Linked DNA regions of Homo sapiens: region 2 is linked to region 1. Evidence: promoter capture Hi-C in 16 types of primary human blood cells and fetal thymus (Javierre and others, 2016). All regions are on one chromosome and are shown on one strand. The core of a region is centred on a gene start or on the middle of the fragment in contact, and the rest is flanking DNA. Distances in the headings are between cores, read along the strand shown. Region 1 has its middle 3.8 kb from the start of LINC01695. Region 2 holds the start of ADAMTS5 (ADAM metallopeptidase with thrombospondin type 1 motif 5).

What was found. The method cuts DNA at HindIII sites, captures the fragments that hold promoters and counts their contacts. A CHiCAGO score of 5 or more calls a contact.
Region 2: the fragment with the promoter of ADAMTS5 here is called in contact with a fragment that was not itself captured in region 1 in 3 of 17 cell types (M0 macrophages, M1 macrophages and M2 macrophages); the score reaches 6.9 in M0 macrophages.

The regions. Positions count from the first base shown.
Region 1 is chr21:28,230,924-28,233,983 of GRCh38, reverse strand. No RefSeq gene overlaps it. Among named protein-coding and RNA genes, the nearest start is that of LINC01695, 3.8 kb to the right of the region's middle. The HindIII fragment of the contact is 1,186 bases long and covers 768-1,953 here.
Region 2 is chr21:26,965,651-26,968,580 of GRCh38, reverse strand. It overlaps ADAMTS5 (ADAM metallopeptidase with thrombospondin type 1 motif 5), which reads left to right and starts at 1,493. Exons shown (of 8, transcript NM_007038.5): 1 at 1,493-2,930. The coding sequence starts at 2,190. It overlaps LOC124905050, which reads left to right. Exons shown (of 3, transcript XM_047441063.1): 2 at 611-1,137; 3 at 1,497-1,925. The coding sequence ends at 1,925. The HindIII fragment of the contact is 6,499 bases long and covers 1-2,930 here.

The DNA of each region.
Region 1 (3,060 bases), core at 111-2,610:
CTCACAGATTCCCTTGGCTAGGGGAGGGAGTTCCCCAGTCCCTTGCACTTACTAGGTGAAGCGACACCACACCCTGCTTCTGCTCGCCTTCTGTGGGCTGCACCCACTGTCTAACCATTCCCAATAAGATGAACCGGATACCTCAGTTGGAAATGCAGAAATCACCCATCTTCTGTGTTGATCTCACTGGGAACTGCAGACAGGAGCTATTCTTACTCGGCCATCTTGCCAGATCCCAACACAATTTTTAAGTTGCGCAACATTTTCAAGCAAATCTACAAACGTTATTTCTGACACTTTCTCATACAAAAGCCTCATTCATTCATGATTTCAACGAACCAATCAACACATTTATTTGTCATTTATTATATGCCAAGTGTCAGACAGTCTGGAGATTCTGGTGAATAATAAGCTTTCTGCCTTCATACAAAATTCTTTTGAGGGATACAAACAACTAACTGTACAATTACAATACAGTCCATTAGGAATTGTGCTTTGTAACATGGGAACGTACACACAGAGTCTAGACTGCCTGAGAGGAACTGGGGGTAGAATTAGCCAGTGAAGGAGGCTCTGGGAACAAGGATAGTTTTCCAGACACTTTGAAGAATAGAGAAAGAAGGCATATTTGAAAATTCAAAGAGCAAGCCCCGTAATGCAATGGTGAGAATTAGGGTTTTGGATTTAGACTTGTCTGAGTTCAAATCTGAGCCTCATCATTTCGTAACTGATGTGGTATTGTGTGACATGACAAACATGGCAAAGCTTCCTTTTCTTTTCAAATGATCAATTTGTGAAAAGAAAAGAAAATTCATTCTATCTGGAACATCTTTAGCAGGGATTGAAGGTGATTTGTTCCATAATGCATTAGGGACAGTATCTGTTATATACCAAGATCTTGATGAGTTGTGGCTAAGCTGGAGAGAGCTGGTATGAAGAACCCAGAGAGGGCCGACTGGAGGGCTTGGCTGGCAGTGGTCTTGTGGGTCATGTCCAGAATTTGGATATCATCTTAAGAGTCATGTGAAGAATCTGAAGGGCTTTAAGCCACGATGTTACACAATCAGATTACTATTTTGGAAAAATTTGATATTCAGATGTAGTCACATGGCAACATAAAAATGAAAAATATTTTATTTTGTAAGAAATTGCAAAGATAAAACTGAATAAAAACAAATAGGTAAATGTCAGCAAAAAGAATTAATACTGTTTAGAAATTTATACGTTATGTATTATTTTCCTATAAATAGAAAAGGCTTGACAGCCAAATCGTATCTTTAGAGACCCACACATGTTAGAGGATGTCTTTGGACCACCAAACTGTTACATAACTTGTTTATAATTCTAAGAAAAGCACATTACCATTCCAGTTGTTGACATATCCACATATGCAGAAAAGTAAAAGTCACATACCCAGAAGATGGTTAGAAATCTTGCTTGCAGTATTGTAACATTTGCAATTTTTACATATTAATACTTAGTTATTTTCTTATATTCTTGAACCAAGGTTTATGTGAAAAAAACTTTATTTCTACTGTCACATCTTATTTATTTTATTTTTATGTGTTGTCTTACCACATAATATAAAAGTATATATTCCCTGTTGGATTATTTGTTCTTTTCTATTTCACTGTGTAGGATACATATTAAATATTATTGATATTGCACTTCAGATGTGTCCACATCATAGTTCTCTGGGTTGAAATTAGTACATATTGTTTTCCTTCCATAATATATAACTTCCAGTGTTTTTCAAAAGTATGGTTCAAGGATCAATCATGTACAAAAAACCTAGGGAAGTGGAGTCCCTATTGTAAATGTAGATTCATTATTAACCCCACAGGTTTACTGAATCAACATATTTTGGGGATGGTGTCCTGAGACCTGCATTTAGAAATTACGTAAGAATCCACTCAAACTAATTTAGTGGATTCTCATCAGCTCTCTAAAGCTTATTTAGTGGATTCTTATGCAAATTCAGGTTAGCAAACTACTTCAGAATATGTGTGCAGCTCTTTTCTATTAAATAGACCTGGACTATCTCATAGTTGTTATGTCTGTAAGTCTTACTTAACTGGTAAAACAATAACCATGATAGAGTATCTTGGTTTCTGATAAGTTAATCAGAAATACAATCTCATAAATCATTGGTGGATAAGCTGATAATATATAGACTGATTAAATAATGTTTGCAAGGACAGAGAGATGAAAATTTGAACATTATCAACTTGAAAAGCATCCTCAGATGGTACTATGGACTAAATGTTTATGTTCCCCCTAAATTCATATGCTGAAACCCTAATCCATAATGTGATAATATTTTGAAGTGAGTCTTTTGGGAGTGATTAAGTTATGAGGGTACAGCCCTCATAAATGGCATTAGTGCCTTCATAAGAAGAGAGAGGAGAAAGATATTCTGTTTGTCTACTACATGAGGATATAGCCAGAAGCTGGCTGTCTGCAAACCAAGAAGACAGTACTCACCAGAAACCAAATGCGGCAGCACCTGGATCTTCAGAAGTGTGAGAATAAGTCTATAATTTAAGCCACTCAGTCTATGGTATTTTGGTATAGCAGTCCAAACTGGCTAAGACAGATGAAATGCATGTGGCCTCATCTAACTTATTTGTGTGCATGTGTGTTATTTTATTTAAATAAATTACATGTAGTATTTTCATATTGCCCAAAGCTAGAAGGGATAGCTAATTTGTAAGAATATTTAAAAGGATATCCATAGGCTGAAATAAAATTGACTATATGAAAATTAAACTTCAAATGTGAAATCCTATACTATTTTGAAGACATTAGCTATATAAATCCAGGATGTGTAAAGAGGTGGACTAAGGACAGTTTATTTGCAAAAGACAGGTAGATGGCTTTTGATCGATTTCAAACTCCATATAAATTAATAATATGAAGTAGTTACCAGGCATAGAGAAATTGTTTTAACTTTAATTATAAGTTTGTGCAGCAGTAGGGATAAAAATTATCATAATGCCATCAACATTACATAATTCTAATTGTTGCATATTCTCTTCCAAACCCTGGCAACACAAGTAA
Region 2 (2,930 bases), core at 244-2,743, 1.3 Mb after region 1:
TATTGCCACTCTAAGAACCTCCATCAAGCTCTGGACCCTCATGGTTCCCTCCCAGAGAAAGCGATCAGCTTGGGGCCCCATTAAGGCACCCGCCCTGCTATCCCCAGCGTAGCCAAAGTTAAACGTAGAAAAAGATGGAAATGTACAAATTACACCACATTCATTTTTCACTGGTGCATTAGTTAATTAGCCTGAAGAATAATTTGGGCATGGAGGGAGCTCTTACCCCTACAGTAGAAGGTAGACCTTCTAACCATAAGTCGTCGGGTTTTCCTTCTCCCTTCTTAGAATGATAATTAGAGGAAACAAAGAGGTCAGAGGAAACGAGTAGCAGTGATAATGTCACCCGCGTACTAATAAGCACCAATCTTCCTTCCGCCAAAAGTATTCTTTTTCTTCTAAAAGGAATTTCTGAGAATGAAGGTAGGTCAAGGCCTATGGCGATAAGTGGTTGCTTTAGAAGAGACAAAAACAGATATAGGAATTTATTATTAAAGTATCATTTAAGCAAAAAATAAAAGTATGAGCGCAAAATTTTAAAATCTTTCAGGGAAAAAAAATGAGCGGAATTCCCTCTAAGAGTTAACTCTTTCTCGCTCTGCCTTTTTAGAGCAAAGGAAGTTCCAGTGGGCTGGGAGTAAGGGACAGATTGTGGACCCTGACGAAAGGCGTGCTGGAGAAAGCTGGGAGCCCGCCGTTCGCACACAAAGCTGCGGAGTTCCCAAGCGGCGGGCGTTCTCGCCCCGGGGTACCGCAGCGCGCCAGGAAGCGCCCTGGGCTCTCTGGCTGTCCAGCCGCTCTGCTGGTGGCCGGGAGAAGTTAGTCACCCGGAGCCCGAATCCGGCGAGCGTCAAAGCATCAAGAGGCTGGAGAATGGGGAGGGAGGAAACCGGGTGCCGGGACGGAGGGGAGGAAGCGAAGGGAACGCGGTGGTTAGGGGACGCACGGGAAGCTGAAAAGCTCTGGCTGGTGGATGGAGTTGCACGGTCTGCGAGGCCAGAGCGCACGGGTGTGCAAAGGGGAAAAACTTGCGGCAGGAACTTCCCACCGAGGGCGAGAAAAGCAGGCAAGAAGGAGGCAGGGAGAGACTTGAAACGTCTCAATAACTTTAACCAAAACACCCGTTCAGGAGATGAGGTAAGCCAAGGTTAGCCAACCCCAATTGGTTGTGAAATATCAGACAGACCCGGAGCCGCTGTGGCTTTAAAAGTGGCCAAGGAAATCTGTTTTTCTTGCCCCATTACTTTTTATTTTCCCCTCTCCCCTCCTACCACCTCGCCGGGTCCCAGTCCCTTCCTCCTACTTCGTCTCCCTTTCCTCGATCACCCTCCTCTTTTGCCCTCCCCCATCTGATTAGGCGCGGACTGGGAAGGGTGGGAGTGGTGGGGGAAGCTCTCCCTTTAAGAGGCAGCGTGCAGTGACGAACTGTTGAAATTGCCATTGCAGGATGGCATGCCGCTATAAATTCATTGTTCCACCTCCTCGCATCTTCACAGCGCTCGCGCTGCTCTCGGCGCTCGCAGCTGCCGACTGGGGATGACGGCGGGCAGGAGGAGACCGCAGCCGAAGGGACACAGACACGCCGCTTCACCAGCTCGCCTCAGGCTGCCCCCCTGCATTTTTGTTTTAATTTTTACGGCTTTTTCCCCTCTCTTTCTTCCCTTCCTCCTGGTCCCAGCAGAGCCAAGGAAACCCACAAAATAAGAAAGGAAGTGGGCCCCGGAGCTTGGAACCTCCACAGCCGGCTTGTCCAGCGCAGCGCGGGGGCGGGAGGCTGCGCGCACCAGTTGCCAGCCCGGTGCGCGGTACCTTTCCTTACTTTTCTTGAAACAGCGATCGTGCCTGCATTTGGTGGTTTTTTGGTTTTTGTTTTTTTCCTTTTCCCGTATTTGCTGAATCTCCACTATCCGACTTTTTTTTTTTAATCTTTTCTTTCCCCCCCCCCCCACCCCACCTCTTTCTGGAGCACGAATCCAAACATTTTCCCAAGCAACAAAGAAAAGTTCGCACGCTGGCACCGCAGCCCGGACAGGCTGGCGCTGCTGCCGGGCCCCCCTCCCTCCGACACTTGACTCAATCCTGCAAGCAAGTGTGTGTGTGTCCCCATCCCCCGCCCCGTTAACTTCATAGCAAATAACAAATACCCATAAAGTCCCAGTCGCGCAGCCCCTCCCCGCGGGCAGCGCACTATGCTGCTCGGGTGGGCGTCCCTGCTGCTGTGCGCGTTCCGCCTGCCCCTGGCCGCGGTCGGCCCCGCCGCGACACCTGCCCAGGATAAAGCCGGGCAGCCTCCGACTGCTGCAGCAGCCGCCCAGCCCCGCCGGCGGCAGGGGGAGGAGGTGCAGGAGCGAGCCGAGCCTCCCGGCCACCCGCACCCCCTGGCGCAGCGGCGCAGGAGCAAGGGGCTGGTGCAGAACATCGACCAACTCTACTCCGGCGGCGGCAAGGTGGGCTACCTCGTCTACGCGGGCGGCCGGAGGTTCCTCTTGGACCTGGAGCGAGATGGTTCGGTGGGCATTGCTGGCTTCGTGCCCGCAGGAGGCGGGACGAGTGCGCCCTGGCGCCACCGGAGCCACTGCTTCTATCGGGGCACAGTGGACGGTAGTCCCCGCTCTCTGGCTGTCTTTGACCTCTGTGGGGGTCTCGACGGCTTCTTCGCGGTCAAGCACGCGCGCTACACCCTAAAGCCACTGCTGCGCGGACCCTGGGCGGAGGAAGAAAAGGGGCGCGTGTACGGGGATGGGTCCGCACGGATCCTGCACGTCTACACCCGCGAGGGCTTCAGCTTCGAGGCCCTGCCGCCGCGCGCCAGCTGCGAAACCCCCGCGTCCACACCGGAGGCCCACGAGCATGCTCCGGCGCACAGCAACCCGAGCGGACGCGCAGCACTGGCCTCGCAGCTCTTGGACCAGTCCGCTCTCTCGCCCGCT